Regions from separate parts of the Homo sapiens genome. Here all the other regions are linked to region 2. Evidence: promoter capture Hi-C in 16 types of primary human blood cells and fetal thymus (Javierre and others, 2016). All regions are on one chromosome and are shown on one strand. The core of a region is centred on a gene start or on the middle of the fragment in contact, and the rest is flanking DNA. Distances in the headings are between cores, read along the strand shown.

The links. Contacts are between HindIII fragments. The CHiCAGO score rates a contact against its expected background, and 5 or more counts as called.
Region 1: a fragment that was not itself captured here is called in contact with the fragment with the promoter of SLC38A5 in region 2 in 4 of 17 cell types (naive CD4 T cells, naive B cells, M1 macrophages and 1 more); the score reaches 6.4 in naive CD4 T cells.
Region 3: a contact is called between a fragment that was not itself captured here and the fragment with the promoter of SLC38A5 in region 2, in 1 of 17 cell types (naive CD4 T cells). The highest score is 5.2, in naive CD4 T cells.
Region 4: a fragment that was not itself captured here is called in contact with the fragment with the promoter of SLC38A5 in region 2 in 1 of 17 cell types (neutrophils); the score reaches 5.7 in neutrophils.

What each region holds. Positions count from the first base shown.
Region 1 is chrX:48,041,864-48,045,038 of GRCh38, forward strand. No RefSeq gene overlaps it. Among named protein-coding and RNA genes, the nearest start is that of ZNF630-AS1, 13 kb to the right of the region's middle. The HindIII fragment of the contact is 940 bases long and covers 1,175-2,114 here.
Region 2 is chrX:48,469,010-48,472,126 of GRCh38, forward strand. SLC38A5 (solute carrier family 38 member 5) reads right to left here and starts at 1,251. Exons shown (of 17, transcript NM_033518.4): 1 at 1,173-1,251; 2 at 326-427. The HindIII fragment of the contact is 10,592 bases long and covers 1-3,117 here.
Region 3 is chrX:48,059,873-48,062,980 of GRCh38, forward strand. ZNF630 (zinc finger protein 630) reads right to left here. Exons shown (of 5, transcript NM_001282201.2): 3 at 947-1,073; 4 at 578-673; 5 at 1-331. The region is part of intron 1 of ZNF630-AS1 (ZNF630 antisense RNA 1); the gene reads left to right. Among named protein-coding and RNA genes, the nearest start is that of ZNF630-AS1, 5.1 kb to the left of the region's middle. The HindIII fragment of the contact is 4,033 bases long and covers 1-3,108 here.
Region 4 is chrX:48,820,920-48,824,031 of GRCh38, forward strand. HDAC6 (histone deacetylase 6) reads left to right here. Exons shown (of 29, transcript NM_006044.4): 24 at 1,701-1,875; 25 at 1,993-2,669; 26 at 2,753-2,866; 27 at 3,003-3,112. Among named protein-coding and RNA genes, the nearest start is that of ERAS, 4.0 kb to the right of the region's middle. The HindIII fragment of the contact is 4,474 bases long and covers 1-3,112 here.

The DNA of each region.
Region 1 (3,175 bases), core at 395-2,894, 430 kb before region 2:
TGTCAAAAATTGTTAGGATACTTGAAAATTTGGTTAAATAGGGTCATGGGTCACTGATAAACAATACTTGGCTACCATTTAACTAAAGTGATTTTAAAGTAAATATAGGAGGTAACATGGTTGTAAAAATAGCTCTTTAAAAAGTGAAAAAACTTGATTCTCTTAAATAACTAAGGATATGAAAAAGTCAACATAAAGCACAGGTATAAAGAGCTGGGTGTCCTCTAATTCAATCCACTACTGACTATCTACTTGGAGACAGAGTCAGCTCCCACAAGTTGAGGACTCAGTCTCACAAGACTGTCTCCCATTTGAGATGCCAGTTGCAAGCACATATTGAGACCTGTACTTCTTACCAACTGGCTGTAAGTCAGGATTCCCACGACCCCCCTGAGGTTCAATTCATTTGCTAGAGCAGCTCACAGAACCCAGGCAAACACTTTACTTATGTTTACTGGTTTATTAATAAGGGATATAATGAAGGATGAAGATTAACAGCCAGATAGCGAAGATGCATAGAGCAAGGCATGAGGGAAGGGGTGTGGAGTTCCCATGCCGCCTCCAGAGCACCACCCTCCAAGAACCCACACATTTCCAGCTATCTGGAAGCTCCCCAAGCCCTGTCCTTTTGGGTTTTTATAGAGGCTCCATTACCTAGATGTAATTGATTACATCATTAGCCATTGATGATCAATTCAACCTTCAGCCCCAGAGTTGAGGGATGGGGCTGGAGGTCCCAACCTTCTAATCACATGGTTGATTCCCCTGGCAACCAGCTCCCATCCTGAGGCTATCCAGGAGGACATTAAGAGGTCACCTCATTAGAGCAAAAGATGCTTCTATCACCCAGGAAATTCCAAGGGATTTAGAAGCTCTGTGTCAGACACTCCTATCACACAAGAAATTACAACGGTCTTAAGAGCTTTGTATCAGAAACTGGGGTCAAAGACCAAATATTAAAACAGAATATTTTTATCATCTCTCTCTCCTGTAATGATAGACAGACCTAACGGACTATTAAAATTAAAGCTTGCTAAACTGGACATAGTGGCTTACGCCTGTAATCCCAGCACTTTGGGAGGTCAAGGCACCAGGAGTTCAAGACCAGCTTGAGCAACATAGTGAGACCCCATCTGTAAAAGACAAAACTAAACCAAAAACAAACAAACAATAAAGCTTAGTAAACTGATGGAAAAACTCAATCTCCAATGAACTAAAGTTTTACCCTCTCTGGGACTCTCCTTCACCATCTGTAAAATGAAGCCAGGGCTCATTTACGTGGGATTCCCATGAGGATCAAGTAAAACTGTGCTGGAAGACTTTAGCACAACACATTCCTGTCTGGCAGCAGAAGGGGATCAGCCTTGAGGTATAAAATTCTGGGTTGCAATCAGTGGTGTGCTGATAACAGCTGGCCCCAGCGAAATGGCACAAGCCAGCTCAGCATGGCTCGATTTATGTGAAGTTTCTAGAAGAGGCTAAACTAATCTATGGTGAGAAAAGTCAGGACAATGCTTGCCTCTGGAGGGGGTGGCAGCAGGGATTGATAAGGAAAGGGCATGAGGGAACTGTCTCAGGTGATGGTCGTGTTTAATGTTTTGATAGGGGTTTACATTTGTCAAAATTCTTTGAATGATACACTTGAGATTTATACATTTCACTGTATACAATTTTACTTAAAACTGTAAATATTGAACTCTAGTTAATGATATGTACGCTGAATTATCTAGAAGCGAAGTGCACTGAAATCTGCAACTTACTTTGAATTGCACCAAAAAATAACATGGATTGATGGACAGATAGAAACATGGATAGATGAAAAGAGATGAGATAAAGCCAGGTTAACAACATGTAACAGTCTGGGTGTAGGGTATATTGGCACTTACCAAACAATTCTTTGTATCTTCTGTATGCTTGAAGATTTAATTATGAAAAATGTTGAGGAAACATACTGAGCATATCTTACATACAAAGTTGTTTATCTTTGCCCCATTGCTTCTAGTAGTTTCATTTACATATATTGATTATAATTTTATCCACTAATGACTTTTACTTTGCAGAGAAAACTAGGAAGTAGATAACTATGAACTGTCTATCATAGAGCAGGCTAGCAAAGCTTATGAATATATATCTCACAATCTAGTTGATACAATATTGGCTTATTCGACTAGTAAACCTGTACACATTTAGGAAGAACATACCAAGTAGAAAGAAGTGTATACTTCTGTTATACTTAATGGTAATAACTCATAAAACATAGCTATTTTTATTAAGCCAACAATATTAAGCTAATTTTGTTTGCCAAAGATTTACCTAAATTAGGTAACTTGAATTTTTTTTTTTTAGATGAATTTCCTTCTTGTTGCCCAGGCTGGAGTGCAGTGGTGTGCTCATGGCTCACCGCAACTTCCGCCTCCTGGGTTCAAGCGATTCTCCTGCCTCAGCCTCCCGAGTAGCTGGGATTATAGGCATGCACCACCACGCCCGGCTAATTTTGTATTTTTAGTAAAGATGGAGTTTCACCACGTTGACCAGGCTGGTCTTGAACTCCTGACCTCAGGTGATCCACCCGCCTTAGCCTCCCAAAGTGCTGGGATTACAGGTGTGAGCCACCACGCCCGGCAGTAAATTGAATTTTTAAAACATTTATGTTAGGTTTTAGAGAATACTTTTTCCCCCACACTGGAAGTATTAGAAGTTCAGATTTTTTTTTTCTGACAGTTTTAGGGTTTTTAAGGAATTTTATAAATTAATTTGATAGTATCATCCAGAGGTAGAAAAATATCACATATGCATAAAATAAATACATAAACATACAGGCAGATGCAAATAAAGATCTTACAGGTTTCATTCTAAAATTTTAGCCACGATTCAGGCATAAACACAGAAATACAAAACTCACTAGTCAATACAACAGAGTTGGCTCATTGTCTTTGCCCCACTTTGTATTTTTATCAGAATTCTGTTTCTGGCAGACGGGACAAGTTGAGGTTTACCTATTCAACATGAGGGCTAAAGCTTCCCATCAATATTTCTGGAGGAGACCTTTTTTTTCTTTTCTTTTTTTTTTTTTTTTTTTTGAGACGGAGTCTCACTCTGTTGTCCAGGCTGGAGTGCTGGAGTGCAGTGGCGTGATCTCGGCTCACTGCAAGCTCCGCCTCCTGGGTTCATGCCA
Region 2 (3,117 bases), core at 1-2,500:
CTCAGAAACCCCCATTCAAGGTCCCCATTAGAGCTCAAACTGGCTCAGGAAATCCTTTTCCCAAGTCCTGAATCCCGTTCCTGGGACAGGGAGGGTCTCAAGGAGTCCCATCCCCCACCACCAGCACCCTCCGGAGCCTCCCACCCACACCTGAATTCACTTCCTGGGATCAGGGTACAAAAAGGACCTCCCCATACACGCCATTCCATTCCCCACTAGTGCTAAAATGTCTCCAAGGAACCCCGAGCCCCCTCCCAGGACCCCTACTCATATCTCAGGCCCCCAGGAACACCATCCCCGCAGCCCACGCTCCCTCCTCACCTACCTGCTCCTCTCAGCTCCTGAAGTGGCCGCAACTCAGACTCAGGTTCGGGCACCCTCTCGGCTGCCTAGGCTCCTGCTCTGGAGCGGTACTTTTTTTTTTTTCCTGAGAAGAAATGTTAATTTTAATTTCGTTTCCCTCCTTCTGGCCCTGGGCGGGGGAAGAGGTGGAGAAGGGGCGCCCCCTATCTGGACCCACTTGGAGGGAGACAGCGGTTTGTTTGTGTGTTGATGGTGGGGGAAATGGCCTGAAAGATTGAGGGTGTAGACCCACAGCTAGAGAGAGTGACAGGCAGACAGAGGGGATGGACTCACAGAGCAGACGGACAGCAGGATGGGATGGATGGCAGAAAAAGGTGCAGAGAGGAGACAGAGAGAGAGTAGGAGAACTGAAGTTACAAAGAAAGCAGGCATGAGAAACAGCACAGGAACAGACAGACCACAGAAGGGACAGAAAGACAGATGGGCGGGAGGAGGGGATGCTAGGGGAGCTTGGAAGACAGGCAGAGACAGGGAGAAAGGGACACACAGGCAGACTCAGAAACAAACAGGTGGGTAGGGATAGGCTCGTGGAAACACCTGCAGAAAGGCAACAGGCAATTGGGCTCAGTCATAGACAGGAGACACAGGCTGGCCAAGAGGTGGGGGACAGAGCCAGACAGCTCCCCAAACAGAGGGTAGGACCAGACACACCAGCTCAGAGAGATGAAGGGGCAGAGAGAGTGGTTGAGGCAGAGAGACTCCTGGAGGGACAGGAGAAAAGAGGCAGAGAGAGGCAGATTCAGGCAGAGAGGCCTGGGGACAGCAGGGGAACAGGTGCAGGGGTAGTAGCCAGGCTATTCCAGGCAGACCTCAGGCAGACAGCCTAGGCACGAGAGGACCCTAGATCTTGGGGGCCCCCAGAGGGAGGCAGGGAGGGCATTTGTGGCTGGGTGGGGAATGTGGACTGTGAACTCACACTGTCCGCAAACTGGGCGGGCACTGTAGTCCTGGACCCCACCCCAAGCGTGGGGTGGGGCTTGTCCAAGCCCTGAGAAGTCCCACTATCTGTCTGTCCGTCTGTCTTCTATGGGAGTCCGTCTGTTCACTCCCCTCCAGGCATATGACAGGCATGCCTGTCCCAGGCAAGCCACGTGTCCGCTACAGGATGTCAGGCAGGGTGGACTTGGGGTCTGGGACCACCTCGACTGGGCTGCTTGAAGCCCAGGTGGACAAGAGGCCTCTGTCTGGGCCCCTCGCCCGCCTGCCCACCCCCGACAGGGAACACAGAATTCCCGGAAAGGCCAGGAGCTGGCTGGGGCTTCAAAGCTGGCCTAGATGCCCTCACCCCACCCACAGTTGGAGGAGGACAAGGGATGGGGCGTTTACTTCCCCACAGCGGGAGAGAGACTCCTGCACACTCAGGAATCGCAGCTACACAACAGGACCCATCACAGCCCCATCAAGGGGCTCAGATACGGGGGCCAACTCGCCATCACTCACAGAGGTGCACAAAGACTCACAGCCACACAAGAGAATAAAGACTGACAGACATGAACACACACAGACTCACCACTGCACGTTAAGAGCAATGGCTCATGGGACAGTCACACACGTGGCCACACAGAGTGACGATAGTCTTACAGCTATCAATACCGACAGGCTCAGAGCCGCTCACAGAGAGCACAGACTAACACAGGGATAGGCTTGTGCCGATTTCCAGACACTCGAGACTCCTGAACCTCACCGCCCGTGGACCCACAGCCATGCCAAAGACAATCAACAGGCAAATCACACACACAGATTCACAGCCACACACAGAGCACACAATTACACACAGCTGATGACATTGTGTGTGGGTCCTGGGTCTTTCCCACACACACGATCCAGGTTCAGATGGCCCTGGATCTGAACCTGAATCCAGGTTCAGATGACCCTGGAGGCAAACTTCCAGGTTCAAGCCCTAAAATGATATCTCTGTGTATGTGAACTTGAATGTGCACTTGTGACCACATGTAACCACATACAGCTCCAGTCACAGAGAGAGGCACTCATAGGCTGACATGATTTTTGTACAAACAGAAAAGCCATAGTCTCCTTCTCTCTCTCTCTCCTCTCTCTCTCTCTCTCACACACACACACACACACAACTGCATTTCAGCAAATGGCTGCACACAGCCGTGTACACACACAGCTAGTCACAAATCAAGTCAGAAAAGAAACATATAGGGAAAGCATATACCTGCACACAAACACAAAGCACAGGAATGCAGAGTACGCTTACTATCGTTGCAAAGAAAAAATCCAGAAACCACACTGAAAGCTACACAAGGAAAAAACAAGAGAACCAGATAGTACTCATACCATGGCACCAGAAGAAACACCCCGAGGGCACACATACCTGCAGCCACTCGCTAAGAAGAGACACAAATACAGCAGCAGACACACAAAGAAAGATACGTGCGCATAGATACACATATAGGAGGGACAAGTACTCTGACACACTTGTCACCCACGACCATTACAAAGGAGACAAACACCCAAGCAACACACACACACAACAACATATAGATGAACTGCACCGACAGACAGTACCAATGCACACGGTTGCCAAAAAAAAAAAAAAAAAAAAGGTATGAGTTGGGCCGGGTGCAGTGGTTCATGCCTGTAATCCCAGCACTTTGGGAGGCCAAGGTGAGTGAATCATGAGGTCAGTAGTTCGAGACCAGCCTGGCCAACGTGGCGAAACCCCGTCTCTACTAAAAATACAAAAAAAATTAGCTGGGCGTGGTGGCGGGTTCCTGTAATCCCAGCTAC
Region 3 (3,108 bases), core at 271-2,770, 410 kb before region 2:
TCTGAATTAGACTTCAAGCTATTTTCACATGAATCAAACTTATGGAATTTTTGACTTAAAGGAGCAAGGTCTGTGCACCGATTGAACATTTTCCCAAATGCACTGTACTTGGAACCCATCTCATCAGTCAATGTTTCACGACTGATGACTGTGACCTGCCTCAAAACTCTGTCTTGATTTCCTTGATATCTATCCATCTGATTATCAATATGCCAGATTTTTAAAACAGAGTACAATGAATTATCCTTTGGGGCTCTTTCTAGTATCTCCCTTTGAAATAAAAGTTCTCCAGAAATGATCTGCTGGGAAGATTCAAGGCCTTTCACTCTGTCTGAAGGAAGAAGAAAGAGGGAAAATCAAATACACACACACACACACACACACACACACACACACACACACACACACACACACAAAACAGTTGGCAATGAACAGAGGTACTAGGAAGGTGGCTGTTGTAGAATGAATGTTATAAAGGAGGCCTGATAAATTTTAAGGAAGAAAAAAGGTAACGGATGTCAGAGATGTCAAGGAAGAAGAAGATGCCCGCTTGACCATGTACCCAATTCTCACTTACCTGGGTAGATCCACCTTGACAACTCACTCTCTATGATCCATGGGTCCTTTCCATGTTCCAACTTAAAGATTACATCTGGTTTTATACCTGAACACCCTGTTAAGAGAAAATTGTAGTGGCTTTGGCCTTGGCAGCTCAGAAATTCATGAAGAGAAGCACTTGCAGGGGCCTCCCAGCAAAGTTGGATCCTTAACTCACACCATAACATAAAAATAAATTCTAGATATAACAAAAGTATAAACATGAAAAACCAAAACTATAAAAGAACACACTCTATTAAAGGAATATCATAAAGGTCATGGTATTGACAGCACTAAAGGAAGGATGAGGAGGATTTGATTCATTGGTACACAGGGAATCTGCCCTTACCCACGGAGACCAGGTGATTATAGGTCTCCAGCATCACATCCCTATGCAGGGTCTTCTGAGCAGGATTCAACTGCTGCCACTCTTCCTGCGTGAAGTCCACAGCCACATCCTCAAATGTCACTGGTTCCTATAACAGCACATTCCTGTACAATCTGCTCGTTCTGGTCATTTTTACCATAGCAGTACATGTAGGATGCCTACTTTGCACTTTGCCCAGCATACTTTATGAGAGAAACAATGTAAAACCCTGCCATTAGCAAGAATAGTTAGTGGAACAGAACAGACAGTCTAGAAATAGATACAAATAAAAATGGGAAATTTAATATATAATAAAGGTAGCATTTTAAACAGGAATGGAAAAACAGACTATTCAAAACTGGAGAGCTATCAGAAAAAAATTAACTGGATTCCCTACCTCACACTATATACAAAAATAAATTCATGACAAAAATTTAAATGAAAAAAGAGAAACTATAAAATAAAGACAGGAGAGGTTTTAAAAAATAATCTTTGAGTGGAGAAGACTCTTCTAAGCATGCCCCAAAACCCAGATGCCACAAATGAAAACACTGATAAATGTGACTACTTTATGTATTACATGGCAAAATATATCAAACAAACTCAAAGGATATGACTAACTAGGGAAAAAATATACACATAACAGATAGGATGGACAAAGAGTTAATTTCCTCCATGTATAGAGAGAGCTCCTACAAAGCAAGAAGAAAAAGACCAATAACTTTTTAAAAAATGGTTGATATGGTTTGACTCTGTTTCCCCACCCAAATCTCATTTTGAATTGCAATCCCCACTTGTCAAGTGAAGGAGGTGATTGAATCATGGAGGCAGTTTCCCCCATGCTGTTCTCATAATAGTGAGTGAGTTCTCACAAGATCTAATGGTATTATAAGCGTCTGGCATTTCCCTTGCTGGCACTTCTCTCTCCTGCCACCATGTGAAGAAGGTCCTTGCTTCCCCTTCCACCATGATTGTAAGTTTCCTGAGGCTTCCCCACCCCCGTGGAACTGTGAGTCAATTAAACCTCTCTCCTTTATAAATTACCCAGTCTTGGGTATTTCTTTATAGTGACATGAGAACAGACTAATACGATGGTCAAGGGACATGACCATCATTTCACAGAAAATAAAATGCAAATGTTTTTTAAACATGTAAAAAGATGCTCAACTTCACTCACATGAAGATAAATGCAAACTAAGACAAGACAGCATTTTTCCCTTACATATTATCAAAGATGGGTGTTTGATAAGTCACTGGTCAAATGCTATGACTAGGGATAAGTCACAGTGACTTAGGGTAAGTTAGTGAAGATGTCAAGAAGCAGGCATACTCAAATTGTCTGTGGTGTATGGTATATTTTGAAGGCAATTAATTTGGCAATATCTATCCAAATTTATAATGTATACATCCTCTGACTCGCAATTTGGTTTCTAGAAGTTATTCTACATAAACATTCACTTATGTGAGCAAATGACATGTGTGAAGACACTGCTCTACAGTACTATTTATAATAGCAAAAGAATGGAAACCACCTCATGGGAGATTGGATGAATAAATAATGCTACAATCTCCATAAGGGAATACTATATGCAATTATAAAAAGCAACAAAGAAGGGGCCAGATGTGGTGGCTCACGCCTGTAATCCCAGCCCTTGGGGAGGCAGGGGCAGGTGGATCACTTGAGGTCAGGAATTCAAGACCAGCCTGGCCAACATGGCGAAACCCCGTCTCTACTAAAAATACAAAAATTAGCCGAGCATGGTGGTGCATGCCTGTAGTCCCAGCTACTCAGGCGGCTGAGGCAGGAGACTTGCTTGAACCCAGGAGGCGGAGGATGCAGTGAGCCGAGACTGTGCCACTGCACTCAAGCCTGGGCGACAGACTGAGACTCTGTCTCAAAAACAAACAAACAACCAGCCTGGGCAACATGGCAAAACCCTGTCTCTACAAAAAATTAGCCGGGTGTGGTGGCACACACCTATAGTCCCAGCTACTAGGGAGGCTGAGGTGAGAGGATTACCTGAGCCTGGGAGGTCAAGACTGCAGTGAGGCAAGATAGTGCCACTGCACTCTAGCCTGGGCAACTGGGGTGAAACCCTGTCTCAAAAAGAAAGAAAGAAAGAGAGAGAGAGAGAGAGAGGGAG
Region 4 (3,112 bases), core at 580-3,079, 350 kb after region 2:
CTCCACCTCCCGGCTTCAAGTGATCCTCCCACCTCAGCCTCCTGAGTCGCTGGGATTACAGGCACCCGCCACCACGCCCAGCTAATTTTTGTATTTTTAGTAGAGATGGGGTTTCACCATGTTGGTCAGGCTGGTCTTGAGCTCCTGGCCTCAAGAAATCCACCCACCTTAGCCTCCCAGAGTGCTGGAATTACAGGCATGAGCCACCGCACCTGGCCCCTGGTTACTGTTATGCGTTGTTCAGATATTAACCCACTCAGCAACCTTCTGTGCTCTTATTTTCTTTTTCTTTTTCTTTTTTTTTTTGAGACGTTGTCTTGCTCTGTCGCCCAGGCTAGAGTGCAGTGGTGCGATTGTGGCTCACTGGGTTCAAGCAGTTCTCTGCCTCAGCCTCCTGAGTAGCTAGGATTACAGGTGCCTGCCACCACACCCAGCTAATTTTTTTGTATTTTTAGTAGAGACGGGGTTTCACCATGTTGGCCAGGCTGGTGTTGAACTCCTGACCTCGTGATCCACCTGCCTCAGCCTCCCAAAGTGTTGGGATTACAGGCATGAGCTACCATACCTGCCTCTTTTTTTTTTTTTTTTTTTTTTTCCTTTTGAGACAGAGTCTCGCCGTGTCACCCAGGCTGGAGTGCAATGGCGCTATCTCGGCTCACTGCAGCCTCTATCTCCCAGGCTCGAGCAAGCAATTCTCATGCCTCAGCCTCCCGAGTAGCTGGGACTACAGGCGCATGCCACCACGCCTGGCTAATTTTTGTATTTTTAGTAGAGACGGGGGTTTCACCATGTTGGCCAGGCTGGCCTCAAACTCCTGACCTCAGGTAACCTTCCCGCCTCGGCCTCCCAAAGTGCTGGGATTATAGGGGTGAGCCACCGCGCCCAGCCTGTGCTGTTATTTTCACCACTTTACAGATGAGGAAAATAAGTCACTGAGAAATTAATTGGCTTGCAAAAAGTCGCACTTACTATGTGCCCAGTACTGCTTGTGACAGGACACGGTGGGAGTTAAGAACACAGATGACTCCATCAGAGAGCCCAAGTTCAAACCCCAGTGCTGCCTCTTCAGCTGTTATGACCTCGGACAAGTCATCTAACCACTCTGAGCCTCAGTTTCTTTATCTGTAAAAAGAATAGCAACTGGGATTCCTGTAGAGTGTAAAAAAAGTCAATACAGGAGTCCATGTGGAGAAAGAGTCCAGTTGTTCCTGTACTAGGTCAGGGCAGGGGCTTTTGTATGGGTTCACAGCAGTCGTCTTGTGCAGGTCAGGTCAGTGGTTACTGTATGATGTGAGGCCAGGGGTTCCTGGACAGTGTGAAGACGGATTTCTGTATGGCATGAAGGCAAGTTCCTGTATAGATTGAGCGCCTGTGGTTGTGAGGATTGAGTTAATATGCATGAAGTACTTAAAATCGGGTCTGGCACACAGCAAACAATAAATGTCAGCTGTTACTAATGCTTTTATCAGTATTGTTATCTTGCACTTTACATCACAATTTACTCCCCACAACAACCACCTTACACAGTGGGTGCTGCCTATCTTAAAGGTGTGGGTTCTGTTCACTTGTTCTCAGTACTCCCCCTCCCTCTCCAGACTTGCAGGGCTCAGTAGGGAGGATTGGGGAGGCAGGACATGTTGTCCTCCAAATTCCCCAATGAACCCCCACCATACCTTTCCCTCCCCTTTTCCTTAACAAAGGGTGGCTATAACCTGACATCCATCTCAGAGTCCATGGCTGCCTGCACTCGCTCCCTCCTTGGAGACCCACCACCCCTGCTGACCCTGCCACGGCCCCCACTATCAGGGGCCCTGGCCTCAATCACTGAGACCATCCAAGTCCATCGCAGATACTGGCGCAGCTTACGGGTCATGAGTGAGTGGATTTGGGGGTGATGGGGGGAACCCAGGGAAGGAGGGGGCTGAGGGGCAGAGATCAGAGGCAGGAAGGGTGACAGTACCCACACTCAAGGATCTCCCTCCCTGGTTCCAGAGGTAGAAGACAGAGAAGGACCCTCCAGTTCTAAGTTGGTCACCAAGAAGGCACCCCAACCAGCCAAACCTAGGTTAGCTGAGCGGATGACCACACGAGAAAAGAAGGTTCTGGAAGCAGGCATGGGGAAAGTCACCTCGGCATCATTTGGGGAAGAGTCCACTCCAGGCCAGACTAACTCAGAGACAGCTGTGGTGGCCCTCACTCAGGACCAGCCCTCAGAGGCAGCCACAGGGGGAGCCACTCTGGCCCAGACCATTTCTGAGGCAGCCATTGGGGGAGCCATGCTGGGCCAGACCACCTCAGAGGAGGCTGTCGGGGGAGCCACTCCGGACCAGACCACCTCAGAGGAGACTGTGGGAGGAGCCATTCTGGACCAGACCACCTCAGAGGATGCTGTTGGGGGAGCCACGCTGGGCCAGACTACCTCAGAGGAGGCTGTAGGAGGAGCTACACTGGCCCAGACCACCTCGGAGGCAGCCATGGAGGGAGCCACACTGGACCAGACTACGTCAGAGGAGGCTCCAGGGGGCACCGAGCTGATCCAAACTCCTCTAGCCTCGAGCACAGACCACCAGACCCCCCCAACCTCACCTGTGCAGGGAACTACACCCCAGATATCTCCCAGTACACTGATTGGGAGTCTCAGGACCTTGGAGCTAGGCAGCGAATCTCAGGTAAGGCTCACCACACCCAGGTAGGGGCAAGAAGGGGCAAGAATCGGGCTTCTCTGATACATCTCTTACTTCTGCGTGTCCAGGGGGCCTCAGAATCTCAGGCCCCAGGAGAGGAGAACCTACTAGGAGAGGCAGCTGGAGGTCAGGACATGGCTGATTCGATGCTGATGCAGGGATCTAGGGGCCTCACTGATCAGGTGAGCTCAGGGAGAGGCTGGGACTGTGGCTTCCTTCTCTTGCCAATTTGTGTCTCCAGGTAGGAGCATGTGATGAATAAACATATAATGGGGAGATGGGGTCTTCAGCTTACCTAGTTTCACCCACCCACTCCAGGCCATATTTTATGCTGTGACACCACTGCCCTGGTGTCCCCATTTGGTGGCAGTATGCCCCATACCTGCAGCAGGCCTAGACGTGACCCAACCTTGTGGGGACTGTGGAAC